2 separate regions of the Homo sapiens genome follow, and region 2 is linked to region 1. The links are contacts of gene promoters, found by promoter capture Hi-C in human tissues and cell types (Jung and others, 2019). All regions are on one chromosome and are shown on one strand. Each heading gives the region's core, a stretch centred on a gene start or on the middle of the fragment in contact. The rest is flanking DNA. Distances are from core to core; before and after follow the strand shown.

Evidence for each region. The method cuts DNA at HindIII sites, captures the fragments that hold promoters and counts their contacts. A contact is called where the count stands out against the background at its distance.
Region 2: a fragment that was not itself captured here is called in contact with the fragment with the promoter of LMBRD1 in region 1 in 1 of the 25 tissues and cell types used here (dorsolateral prefrontal cortex).

The regions. Positions count from the first base shown.
Region 1 is chr6:69,793,416-69,800,216 of GRCh38, forward strand. LMBRD1 (LMBR1 domain containing 1) reads right to left here and starts at 3,595. Exons shown (of 16, transcript NM_018368.4): 1 at 3,398-3,595. The coding sequence starts at 3,466. RefSeq lists enhancers at 2,546-3,102, 2,927-2,976, 3,103-3,658, 3,287-3,516. The HindIII fragment of the contact is 20,594 bases long and covers 1-6,801 here.
Region 2 is chr6:70,218,957-70,226,440 of GRCh38, forward strand. COL9A1 (collagen type IX alpha 1 chain) reads right to left here. Exons shown (of 38, transcript NM_001851.6): 37 at 6,976-7,053. Among named protein-coding and RNA genes, the nearest start is that of COL9A1, 80 kb to the right of the region's middle. The HindIII fragment of the contact is 5,172 bases long and covers 2,921-7,484 here.

The DNA.
Region 1 (6,801 bases), core at 2,345-4,844:
ATATTTGGTATTTCTAACAAGTTCCCAGATGATGCCCACACTTTAAGGAACAAGAATAAATTTGCTTTACAAAAATGGAGAGTCTCCTATTGTAATGGCAAATACAATTTAAAGGTGGTGTGAGCCAAATTACAGAGGACATTGAAGCTAGATAGAACAGTTTAGATTTGATATAGTAAAGACAGACATAGTTAGATTACAGGCATGAGATACCAAATCTAACAATTCCTTATGTGTGAAGAAACTGAAGTCCATTCTTTTTGCCCACGATCACAAAAGTAGGCAACATTCATGTCCTGAATCTTTTTTTTTTTTTTTTTTTTTTTGAGACGAAGTTTCCCTCTGTTGCCCAGGCACTATCAGAGCTTGCTGCAACTGCCTCCACAAACCACCTCCTGGGCTCAAGCAATCCTCCCACCTCAGCCTTCTGAGTAGCTGGAACCTCAGGCATTTGCCACCTCGCCCGGCTAATTTTTTGTATTTTTAGTAGGAATGGGGCTTTGCCATGCTGCCCAGGCTGGTCTCAACTCCTGAGCTCAACTGATCCACCTGCCTCAGCCTCCCAAAGTGCTGGGATTACAGGTGTGAGCCACCACACCTGGCCCATGTCCTGAATATTTAGTAGATGATTGGCAGAAGTTCTCCAAGTGTGAAATCCCTAGGCCCTGGTAGTCCCCAGAATCCTTTCTGGAGATTCAGAAGTTGAAAACTATTCTCATAATAAATACTAAGATGCTATTTGCCTTTTTCACTGTGCTGACATTTGCACTCATGGTTCATAGCCACAGTGGGTAAAACTACTGGTGCATTAGCGTGAATCAAGACAGTGGCACCAAACTGCACCAGTAATCATTGTATTCTTCACCACAAGTTCAAAAAGGGACAATTTAAATTAAGACTGTGCTTCACAAAGCAGCATAAATTCATTTTATTGAAATTCAACCCTTGACTCTTTTTAATACTTTGTGGGGTAAAATATGAAGCATGCGTACATAAAGTCCTGCTGCATACCAAGATGTGATGGCTATCTCCAGGAAAAGTTTAGAGTTAAAAGCTAAACCAACCACTCTTCAAGGAACACCATTTTTACTTGAAAGAACAATTGTCAAACTGGTTATTCAGACTTCGCTTTTTGGCAGATTTTGTCAAATGAACAAAGGGAATCTATCACTTAAAGAAAAACTGACAGTATTTGATACCAATGATAATTATGAGTCAAACTTTCAAATGAAAATTGGATTTTGAAAGACTTACATCCACAAGTATGAGCTTGACAACTCTTCAATACTTAGAATTTTCAGAGACATTTCTGACAAGATCAGTTGTAATTTAATGAAATGTGATATTTTGATATTGTGTAATGAAACGTATCCATATTTAAAAGATGTGCATAACTCAGTAAACCAACATTTTCTAAGTGGCCATGGCATCATGTTATAAAACCATGCATGGGTAAAAGAGCCTTTCAAAGTGCAAGATGGGCTAATGGATTTTAATGTAACAATGAATGAAATGCTCATTGATAGGGTTTCAGATTCCACCTTGCAGCTGACATGAATCTTCCACTTGTTGAGCTTTGGTGTAGTGTCAAAAAACATCCACAATTATCTGAAAAACGCTCCTCTGTTTCTGACTACCTATCATTGCAGCTGTATTTTCTCCATACACTTCGACTAAAATAACATACCCCAAAAGACTGAATGTAGAAGGCAACAAAAGAAACCAGCCTTTCTTCTAATAAACCAGGATTTAAAGAGATTTGCAGAAATTTAAACAAAAGTCCTTCTTCCTAATGCTTTTATCCACGACAACATTCAATTCTGATTTTATTTGTCCTTGCTGTAATATTGCCAACTTAAATGGCCTCTCTTCTTCATCTATCCAAACTCTACCACAATTCTCATTTTCTTCCAATATTGTTGTCTATTCTCTTAAGTCCTGCTTTATTTATAGTCACACTTTGGCTTTCGGTCCATAAAATACATGTTTCAAGAATTTCAGTTTTCTCACTTATCTTCAGGCCCTCTTTAAAGCCGTATTTTGTTTGGTTTACATCCTCTTACAATTCACACCACTTCTGTACCGTAAATGTTTATTAATTTATAACTGCCAAGATAGTCTCACGTAACTTTCATACATTACATGCTTATTTATTTTTTTCTAAACAAACTAAATCTGATGGACTGGAAAAGCCAGGGGGCTCTCCAAATACAGGACTGGGTGGCTGCAGAGACCACAGTCAACCTTTAGGGTTTCATTTCCTCCAAGAGAGGACTAACATGTTCCAGGGTAAAGGCAGTGTTTTTATCTGTGACAGTGATGGCAGTAACAAGAGGATCCTTTTCTTAAATTTTCACACCATTCTTTTCTTTTATTTTCTTTTTTTAGTCTCTACTGCAAAAATCTACTAGAACATACTACATAGGTACCAGACACCAACTGGATCTGACAATTAAAGTAAAACCAAACAAGCCTGATTTCCAGAACTGGAGGTTTTTGTTTTGCAATGCAAAAAGGTCAAAATACGTGAGAACAGAAAGTAACTACAGCCTCGGACGATGAGAAAAGAGAAGATTTGAGAAGGTAGAGAAGTTATGAAAGGAAATAAATTGAACTCCCAAATAAACCAAAGGGTTTTAATATGAACAGGGAAGTAATAGCCAGGCCACTCTGAGACATTTCTATCTACACTTTGCTCACTGAATATGCAGAAATAAGATCGTTGGAAAAGAAAGCACCTGAGGTCAGACAGGTAGTAGTATATACTCCGATACTGGTAATAAAGAGGGCTACAGCTCCGCCCTCCACAGGTATCTACACCAATCAAAAAAAGATTAGAAGAGAATGTGACACCTGGAAGTCAGAACGAGCAACTCACGTCATCAAGGCAGAATCACACAATGGGCACAGAGGTTGGAGACTCACTAGCCCCAAGGGTAGGGAAAATGAGGGAAAAAACATACAGAGAAGGTGACAAGTAAACAACGCCAGCGCCTACTTAACTTGCAAAGATCCAGCGCTGCCGCCCCACACCGTGTGACAATGTTTTACAGGGGACGAAAGGCCACCACATACTTCTCAACCCCGAGGGTCTCTTCCGCCCCCAAACCCCACCGGCCCCATTGCCCAAGTCAGCGATGACGGCAAGAGCTTCCAAAAAGGACCCTGCAACCCTAGACGTCATCGGTGAAATGACAGCAAAAGAGACCGGAAATCGACACCCCCCTGCCCCCGCCGCCCGCCCAAGCCCCCAACACTAAGGAGCCCTCCACAGTCCAAGCTAAAAGCGGGGCGGGGCGAAGAGGGTCTCCGGGGCCCGGAGAGGCCAACTGCAGGGCCTGCCCCTCCCTTCCTCCCCCAGTCCAAACATGGGGAAAACTCCAAGCGCCTCCCCTACCAGTAGTAAGAGGCCGAATATGCACCAGCCGATCACCAGCTCCGCCGAGGCCGCGCCAGAAGTCGCCATCTTCGCTTCCGGTCCAGACCAACCTGAGCGCCCGGGGTGGGGAAAGGGGAGGGGGAAAGGGGAGAGAGCGCGAGATATACTGCACCCGCGCACCCTAAAGGTTAAAGGGGCGGAGGGGGAGGAGCAAGTGGTTGCCAAGGAGACTGGACCCACTAGCGTCCCCTGGCGGCGAGCCGAGCGGGGGCGGGGCAGCAAGGACTGCTCAGGGGCGGGGCGCGTGCGGACGCAGTGACATCACCACGCTGCCCTCGCTGGCTTCCCTGCAAGCTGAGATGTGGGAGGGCTGCAGAGCAGGGTGTTGGCTCATAGCTGGGCAACCTATTGAGATATTTGACTCAGCCTAAGTTGATAGACTAGAACAGCAAGGGAACTCCACAAAGAATGGGCTAGGTGGACCTGGAGATCCAAGTCAATTTTAGAGGTTTATACTTCTTCACCAAAAGGAAGTTTGGCCCTCGTGTACAAGGTGGAATGTGTGTGATTAGCAGAACTCCTTACCAGGTTGCAAGAATGGCTGATGTCAGGCCTCTGAGCCCAAGCTAAGCCATCATATCCCCAGTGACCTTCACGTATACATCCAGCTGGCCTGAAGCAACTGAAGATCCACAGAAGTGAAAATAGCTTAGCTGATGACATTCCACCATTGTGATTTGTTTCTGCCCCACCCTAACTGATCAATGTTCTTTATAATCTCCCCCACCCTTAAGAAGTTTCTTTGTAATTCTCCCCACCCTTGAGAATGTACTTTGTGAGATCTACCCCCTACCCCCAAAACATTGCTCTTCACTCCACCTCCTATCCGAAAAACTGTAAGAACCAATGATAATCCCACCACCCTTTGCCGACTCTCTTTTCGGACTCAGCCCGCCTGCACCCATGTGAAATAAACAGCCATGTTGCTCACACAAAGCCTGTTTGGTGGTCTCTTCACACGGACGCATGAGACAGCTGACTCTGAATAAAAGTTGACTAGCTGCCCAAATCACTCTAATTTACTGGCACTGGTGCCCAGCCGGGATAACTGGTTGGCTGGACATGAACTTATCACATGATGTTATAGCCTTTCTATTCAGATGTATGCATGCCTGTGAATTTCCATGATAGCTTTGTATGTAAAGGTATATGCATCAGCAAACAAAACACACTGCCATAGGCCCACAATGAAGAAGAAGGAGGAAACTCTTGGGATGGCTTACCTGAGTCCACAGGGAGGAAACTCTTGGGATGGCTTACCTGAGTCCACAGGGGTGTGAGTGCATGTTTCACCACTGTGATGTAGTCAAGAAACAACTCTGAGAAAAAATACCATCATCTTTTTCCAATGTATTATGTGGTGATGAGTTATGCTCTACCTATAATCTACTTCCGGCTGGAAGCCTGAGGGAAAAAATAGGATGGTCCTTCCTGCCTGGACAGAATAAGAAGGGAATAGGGGAGAATACAGTTTTAACTTGAACTGGTACCATCATAAGCTGGCTTTAAGCCCTCTAGACCTGCAAATGTTTGAATTTCACTCTTTCTTCCTAATAATTCATATCCCTGGAGACCTCTGTCATAGCTTCCTTAAAGTGAAGAGAGGTATCGCTTCCAGGTTGATATCTCTATTCCAGATTGTATAGAGCACCCTTGACATAAGTAACTACTTCTTAGAAAAAGATTCTGTTTACATTTCAAAAGGAATCATGCCAAAAGGGACCAGATGTTCACCTAATCAATAGAGACTGCACCCAACCAGATAACGACATAACCAGGCACACTCTTTTATTATTATTATTATTATTATTATTATTATTATTATACTTTAAGTTCTAGGGTACATGTGCACAACGTGCAGATTTGTTACATATGCATACATGTGCCATGTTGAGGTGCTGCACCCATTAACTAGTCTTACATCAGGTATATCTCCTAATGCTATCCCTCCCCACTTTCCCCCACCCTACAACAGGGCCCAGTGTGTGATGTTCCCCTTCCTGTGTCCAAGTGTTCTCATTGTTCAATTCCCACCTATGAGTGAGAACATGTGGTGTTTGGTTTTCTGTCCTTGCAATAGTTTGCTGAGAATGATGTTTTCCAGCTTCATCCATGTCCCTACAAAGAACATGAACTCATCCTTTTTTATGGCTGCATAGTATTCCATGGTGTATATGTGCCACATTTTCTTAATCCAGTCTATCACTGATGGACATTTCAGTTGGTTCCAAGTATTTGCTATTGCAGGCACACTCTTTACTATCAGTCAACACCAGAGGACTCTGAGGCTATAAAAAGAGTAGAACTTCAACAGCTCAAGATAGCCATCTTAACAGACACTGTCTTACTGTCACTCATGATCAGCATCTAGCATCTGCCACCAAAGGTTCTGCTCAAATCAAAGACTCTTCCTTGCAAAATGTTGATATGCATCCTGATCAGCCGAGGACACTCTCCTTGTCCATGTTGCTCTCCTTGGATTGGTTAATCCTGTTTTCCTAACCTTTCTCTTGATGTTAAATGTTATTTTCTTTTAGAATGTTTAGCCTATAATATTTATATGTTATGTATACTACTATGTTTGGTTTGCAATATTGACTGACTTGTGGAGTGGCTAGAGCTTTGTGTCCTTGGTTCTGACTACCAAATGAATGGGTACTACTAAGGAAAATTACCTCCTTCGGACCTTCATACAGCTCATGGCTTTTATGATTGAAATAGCATCAACAAAAGTCTGACTGTGGAAAGACACAAACTTGCAGGGACTTGAGCCACTGACAGGTAGTCACTTATATCTCCTCCACAAGCCCCAGAGCATACTGAGGTATACTTAATTATTCCTTTTCCTGCTGAGGTCTTGTAATCTTCTTCTAGAAGCTCATTTAAGTTGGAGGAGAGGCCTAAGACAACCCCAAGCCAGTTCTTCCCCTTTCCCCAAATAGTCTAAATCCCCTCTGTAGGAATGATGATACATACCTTGCACCAACAACTTTGGGAGCACAGGCCAATCCCAATGTAGCTCCATTCTCCTAGTTCTACAATCAAAGGAATCAGCCCTTTTTGATTATACCCAAGAAAGTCAGCCCCTGATGCTACAGTCCACTGTAGTTCTCTCTACTGGGTCAGACACTAGCCCTCTGTGTCCTCAATTTCAGGGGCCATATTTCAAATTCTCCAAGTAGCTCCCTTGAGGCCTCCCTTACTAGGCTAAGGGTTAGAAGGTAACACCCCACTCCAACCCACCCACCCCTCCACCTCACCCACAAATACACCACTCTTTGGAGTTAAGGATGGAATTCCACAGGTCAGCAACAGTTCTCATTAAATAAATCTGTTTATGAATCTTCTCCTCTTGCTAATAC
Region 2 (7,484 bases), core at 4,257-6,756, 430 kb after region 1:
TACTTTCATTCAACTATACCTAGTAAGTATGAAGCAGATCATTATGTGTTTTCTTTTAATGATGAGGTCCCTGAGAAAGCTTCTCCCTAATCCACAGCATCTATAGATAAAGCTGTAGCAGAACTATGCCCTTAGCAGCACCTGTTAAGATCCTTAACACCAGATGCAGTTAAAGGTGAAGTTGATTTTTTTAAGGTTTAAAAGATGAGCCAGATCTAAATCCGATTTTCATGCACCTTATCACTAGGAATGTTCCCACTGAGACATACCAGGTGTGCCTTAAAATCAAATCAAGTTTAGGAGAAGGAAATGCCCAAAGAAGAGGTAGAAAACCAAATGAGCACAGGGGCTGGGATGGTCATTGAGATCAGGGGTGGGCAAACTTCAGCTCATGAGCTAAATCTTGTTTTTGTAGTTTTATTAGAACACGACCATGGTCATTTGTTTACATATTGTCTGTGGCTGCTTTGGCGTACCAGGGCAGAGTTAAATAGCTGCAATATGGTGCCCATAGCCAAATAATCTGATCCTTCACAAATAAAGTTTGCTGATCCCTGATGTTATAAAGAAACAAGCCTGGATTAAGAAATTCCCCCACTGTTTTTACCAGATGAAAACGTAAAGTACAAATGCAATGAAATTTGGCCACTAATATTCCACGTAAGTGTTGGGGAGACCAAAGGGAGGAGTGAGGCCTGTGGTGAGCTGGAAAGTGGATGCGGGCAGCAGCTCTTCTCCAGCTAACAGCTGTCATCGGGGAATACAGGCCAGTGTTGCCAGAACTTCTGATAATTTTCAAGAGAGGCCAGGAAGCTGAGTCTTTAAATAAATATCTCCCAATGTTTAAATGTTAGCAACTAATTCAAATTTTTTTCAACATTTGTAGAGCCAGCCAAAAACCTTAAGTTTTAAGTAATTTATTCTCTAATACACTAACAATATTAAAAAGCAGAAGGATAGCTTTTTAGATTTTCACATTTGGTTCCCCATCAACACACTTCAGGAGAAGTTTTTCTTTTTCTTTTTTACCTTGCTGAGTTTATTCCAAATTGCTGCTTATCCTCTGAAGGAAGAGTCGATGAAGCCATCCTGTCTACCCTTGATTTATTTTATGAAGCATGCATCTCATCCAGTTCTGCCTTTGGCAAATGCAGCAATTTACCCTTTGGAGCTTTTGATGATGTCATCATCATCATCATCATCATCATCATCACCACAAATGCTTAATGAGAATGCTTTCTCTTTTCCATGGGCATACACTATGCTCATTATTGAGCCCATTTTTCTCATGCATAAACTGAGAGTTAGGAAGGTCAAATAATTGTCCATAGTCATATAGCCAGAAATGAGGACCCTTAACCACTGCACTAACTGTATTTTCCTACCTATTGATTTTTTTAACTCTGTGGAAGGGTGTGGAGGGGTGTGGCAGGGTGTGTGTGTGTGTGTGTGTGTGTGTGTGGTCATTTTTTTTAATTCCTTGGGCCTGAGTTGACCAGGAAGTAGACAGAGGTACAAAAACAAAGCACAGTATTGACTTTTGCAGAGCTCTAATGATCATAAGAAACTAAGATATTTCTCTGAGGTTTTGCCCTGTAGAAATACCAGAGAAAAAAAAACAGCCTTAACATAGCAGATTGTCAGGCTCTGGAAAGCCCTGACCCAGGGCCTTTGCTCTCATGTATGTTCTAAACTATGTGGGAGCCTCAGTTGGGTGACACTATGTCCACAGTCCACATCACTCAAAAAGTGAAGCTGACTCATAATAACGGTTCACAAAATGGGCATAAATGGTTAGCCCAGCAGCTACATTCATGAATATCTATCAACTGCTTTGTAACTCTTCAGAAAGAGAAAACATGCATCTAAAGTGTTATTCTGCTCTGCCTGCCTCATGTGTGTATTACTTACACTAACTGCCTAATGATTACATGGTTTTCTGAAATGTCAAGGACCTATAAATATGTTGAATATTCCCAATACAAAGAAATGATAAATGTTTGAGATGATGGATATACTAATTACCCTAATCTGGTCATTATGTAATATTTCTATTGAAACATTACTACATATCCCATAAATATGTATAACTATTATATGTCAATTAAAATAAAATAAAATATTTAAAATTATTGCTAAACGTTTTTTTTTTAAACAAATGAATAGCTATGTCATTCTCTATAAAACCACTAGAGGGTAGTCATGTTACACTGATGGAAGCCCATCTCGGCTGGATCATTCTGGAGGCAGCCCCTCACCTAATACATGCTGTGGCGTAAAAGGGACTGTGTATACAGTCAAAACAAAAAAAGTGAATAATTTTCACATTAAATAGGGTATTTCATAATTAATCCACTGGTTATGTAGACTTTTTGTATGTACCAGGAGTTTCTTATATTTCTTGAGCTTAATGTTGTGGTATTTGACAAAGCAGTATATGTTTAAGGAATTATAAACTGGTTTATGTAAGGCCCAGCAACCAAATAAAACAGCTGCAGCAATGGAAATGGAAAAATTAGGTACTGAAAAACTTAGCCCAGAACTGAATGTGTGCGTGTGTATTTTTCCACTCAATAGTCTCAAGCAAAGCTCACCTTTCTGTGGACTTTGCACAAGAAAACCAAATACTCTTATAACCTAGCATAGTCCAGCACAAAGCCAGCTACAACTTCCATGTCCAAGAGGCAAAAAGCACCTTAGCTCACAAGTCACCTTCCTAGTGTTCACATTCAAATGATTTGTCATTTAATTTATGTTTTGCCCTAGTGAGTGCACAAAGAGGAAGTCAGGACTCTTTATTATTAATAAATATGTTCCTTTAAAATTCTCAGAGTGACGAGGAACTAGTCCCAATGGGCAAGTTTGGTGGCAGCAGAGAGAGTCTTTGAGACAACCGACCAAGCAATAACACTAGCTGACCTGTGGCACAAAACTGAAGGCGGGGGAGACTAAAGTTCCAGGGATTGCTAATGTGATCCACGTAGCTCTGCAAGAGAGGCAGAGAAAGAAGCGAGACACTCAGCAATTATGGGACATGCTCAATTCACATGTCTAGGTTGCAAAGAAAAACTAATCGTATGATTAGACAGCCAGCCAATCATTCTGTCCACTTTGGGAACATAGACTCAGGAAGCATGAATATCTGTCTTGTTATTACCTGACAGACTTTTGTCAGGACATGAATTTAAGAGTCTGTATTTTCTCAAATATATTATAAAAAAAGGGAGCAACAATAATAACAGTTAAATTTCACTAAATAATGTCAGAGTGTCTGTTTGCCATATGCCAGGCACTGTTCCAAGAGCTTTACATGTATTAACATGTGCATATATGCTCTAAATACAAGGTAGGCATAGTGATTCCCATTCACTGAAGAGGAAACTGAAGCACTTCAAGGTAAAAGAATAGTGCATAAGCCCTGGCAGCCTGGCTCCATGTCTGCACTTCTTAAATATTCACCCAGCCTACTCCTGGCTGTGAGAAACAAACTAGATTGTGCATGTGTACTTTTTAAACAACAAAGCACTGTAGCCAAAATGATCATCAATGTAAAGGTTATAATAATAACCTGTGTTCCATAACAAGCAATGAGCATTATGTCCCTGCAGGGCATGTAATACTTAACACTGAACAAACAGAGATACAGCATTGGAGAGGGGAGACAGGGAACTAAAACTGTCCAGAAAGAATACAGGAACTCTAACAACCGATAGAAAATGATGATATTAGTTACATCGTTAAAAATATGTTAAATGCCTTAGCACAAAGAATGATCCAACTATCTTTTTTTTTTTTATTCAGGAGGATTTGAGCCCCAAATCCAACAACAGGAACAACAAAGAAGGTTGCAGACTATGCTGTTCTGCAGTTTCTTTATTTTAGGTAAGAAAAGAATTTTTTTATCTAGACGGTTCCAGACAAATTACTGCACAGAATCCTTTTGAAGTTTCATCAGGCCTTAAAGTCCTATTAATATTATGTTTTTGAGAGATCAGAAATCACATTCCTAGTCACATTCAAGCTCTACCAAGAAATAAAAAGCAGTATAGCCTCAGTGGACAATTAACCAGTGAAAAGATGTACTGCTACCCAGTACTTCGCATTTGTGATTTGGAGTTGAAGTAGACTTTCATGGAGGGAAGGTCTGGGCATCAGGGGCGGTGCTGATTTAGAGAAGAGTAATATATTACTGCTGATCAACGGCAAGAGAAAAAAGCTGCAGGGGCTGAACTGGGGCCCAACTTTGCCCTCAGCTTTCCTTGATCCACCTTAAAAAGCAAAAAGTGGACTTGATATATTAATAATAGTATGAACAACCAACATTTCTTGAGCGCCTACTATAGCCAGGAACTGTCTTAAGCAATTTACATGGATTGAGTTTCTTTATTTCTCAGAATTACCCTATCAGAGAGATGTTCTTGTTATCACTGTTTTATAAATGGGAAAACTGAGGTGTAGAGAAATTAAGTAAAATGCCCAATATCATAAAGTTAGTTAGTGGCATAGTCAAAACGTGAACCTAGGATGTCTGAATTGTAGATGCCACTCTTCAAACAGCCCACTTCCAGGTACTAGCTTTAAGGGAGGAATGACCCAAAAAGCTCATGTCAGGAACTTGACTGACTTGAGCATATGCACGGTGTCAACAAGAGAATGTGGGCCGACCTCGAAACCCAAGCCCTCAGCTGGTGCTTTCACCTGCGCACTACACGAGGACACCGCGCCAAAGCGCAGAAAACGATCCACCAGCAGACCCCTCTTCTCTGGCATCTGTGCTTTTGAAAGTTAGCCTATATTCCTGAAAAATAATCTGGAACTCAGATTTGTCACTAAATAATGTCAGATATCGTCTCAATTAAAAGGTAACAAAAGTCCAAAAAAGGAAGGTTACCGAGGTTGAGACATAGAAACCAGGACAAGGAAATCAAGAAAGAAGAGTCAGCTGGGAGGTGAGAAGGATGGGAGATAATCAGAGCTGATGGGGAGAGCAAAGTGAGAGGAGGGGAGAGATCAGAGGAGGGCAACGATTTTGGAGGTGATCCCAGGAAAGCAGGGGCAAGGACTGGCCAAAGGAAGAAAGGAAAAGGAAAACAGAAAGGACAGGTATTAGGAGTCCCCTGGATCAGGGGGTCCACAAAATGTTTCAACAATTCAGATTTAAGATTAAATCCAAGATCAGCTAAAATTAATAATTTTGTTTGTAAGCGATCCTAGGGAGGGCTGCAAATGATGATCTTGTCCTGCCTCACAATTTACTTACACGTGGATGGTCTGATGTTCTAAAAAGCAAGTCGGGGAAGCCCCTCTGACTGACTGTGTGCCCCGTTTGCGCCCCCCATCAACTTGGCTCCTGAAAATGGTTTACTGCAGGTGGGAGATAATGTGCTTCTGACAGTCTGGGACACAGCACACATGGAGCTGATCTTCTCAATCTTCTCATCTTTACATTTAAATTGTGGCTTACCAACAGATTATTTTCAAAGTGAGAATCCCTATAAACCATAATACATTTTCAATAAAGGAAAATGTTGCCAATAGTGCAAGTCATTGGTTCAAGAACTGTTAAGCGATTTGTCAATAAAATGAGAGAAGAAGGAGTTATTAGGCTTTCTCATAAATATATAGATAATTAAGTAAATTGTGATGATGGTATGTTGTCAGCCTCAAAACTTCCTATTCCTACTACTGGTGATGGAGACAGGCACCTTTAGTAAATTCTATTTCCTTTTCCTCTCCTCTACACACCCATCAATGAATCCAAGCTTTACCGTATATTAAAATCTTCTCTAAATCCCATTTAAGCCAGATTTTCCTTTCATTACTAATCATAAATCTTCCATTTCCAATTATAAAAATTTATCAATATGTGAAAACATTTTGATGAGCCCATGAATCAGTTTTAGAAAGGCAGTGTTTGAGTTATCTCCAAACATTCATGTTTTTTTAAAAAATTTTTTAATGAGAACACAATCCCCAGAAGCAATGAAATGGATAATTGGAAAGCAATGATGTTTTTGGCTACAATTATAGCTGTGATTAAATACATCAGCCTCTGGCAGAATTAGAAAATTGTAATTTCTTTTCCTAAACTTCCCTAAGCCAAGTTTTCCCAAACCATTGTGGAAGCAAGTATCATCTCAACTCTCCTCAGCAACAGACCCCTAGGGCTTTGGGAGCCTTCCTAAGCCACTGCCTCCCCACAATAAGAGAGCGTTTGCTGGAAAGTTGCGCATCATTCATGCCCTTAAACTGAACTGGCTTTTGGCCCTGCTATGTTGCCTCTGTGCTTGGGCTTGTAAGTCATTTCCTAAGGGATAAGTGTGTTCCAGCCTGGACTCTGGTGACAGGGTAGCCAGTGTATAAAGAGAACAGAAGGCCCAGTGAGAGAATCTGGGCCCTTCACACAAGGGCTACCCTGTCACCTCAGTTGACACAGCTGTGATGTGTGGCTCTTAGTGATTATGAGCAGGAATGTTCAGTTTTGTATTTTCTTTCTTTCTTTCTTTTTGGATGTGGGGTTTTGGAGGGTCTGGGTGTTTGAAAGGGGAGCTTTAAAAATAAAATTTCAGTTACTCCTTGTGCAAGAGATTAAAAACAGGCTAATCTTCCTACTGCTCTGGCATTTTAGATTAAAAAAAAAAACAGGAAACTATCACCTGCTTTAGAAATAGATAGGATCCAATTTATTCAGAATTTTATAACAAGTGCATTGTGCCTGGACCTTGACACTATTTTTCTTGAAGCATCTATTTAAGGAAATTAGTATTTCAAGTCCTGATACCTATTTTCTGATTTGATTTACAGATCATTTAATTCTTTACTAAAGCTGGTCTTGAAAAATCTATGCTAGCCATTCTGAATAATTAATATGCTTAAGTGATCAAATAACAATTATTTTAAAATTTTATTCAATTCAGGCTGTGTACTTGCTACCAATTTCGCTACCTCCTCCTCTCAGCTATACAACACACTTACCTGGGAGACCTATAGCTCCAGGCAAACCGTTGGGACCTCTTCCTGGAGGGCCACGCTCCCCCTTTTCTCCCAAGTCACCTGCATTACATTAAAGAAATGTTATTTTTCTACATATCTATAAAAATAAACTTCCGCATCTTTAAACTTTCAGCAAATCTAAAATTCAGAAACCAAAAGGTCATGAAATTGCCATAAACTAGATTGTAGTGAGTATGTAGCAAGGCAAAAATCAAGTTCATCTATTAATAGATCTAAGGGGGGAAAATCAAATTATTATATTCATAGATACTGGAATGACATTTGACAAAATTGAACATGCATTCTTGATAAAACATTCAATAAAATAAGAACCAATGGCCACTTCCTAAACACGAAAAATATATCTATCTCAACCCAAAAGCTAGCATTATGCTTAATGGGAAACACAAGAATTAGTTCCACTACAATCAGAACAATATAAAGACGCCTACTTTATCACTAATATATAACTTTTGGTTTGAGTAGTTAAA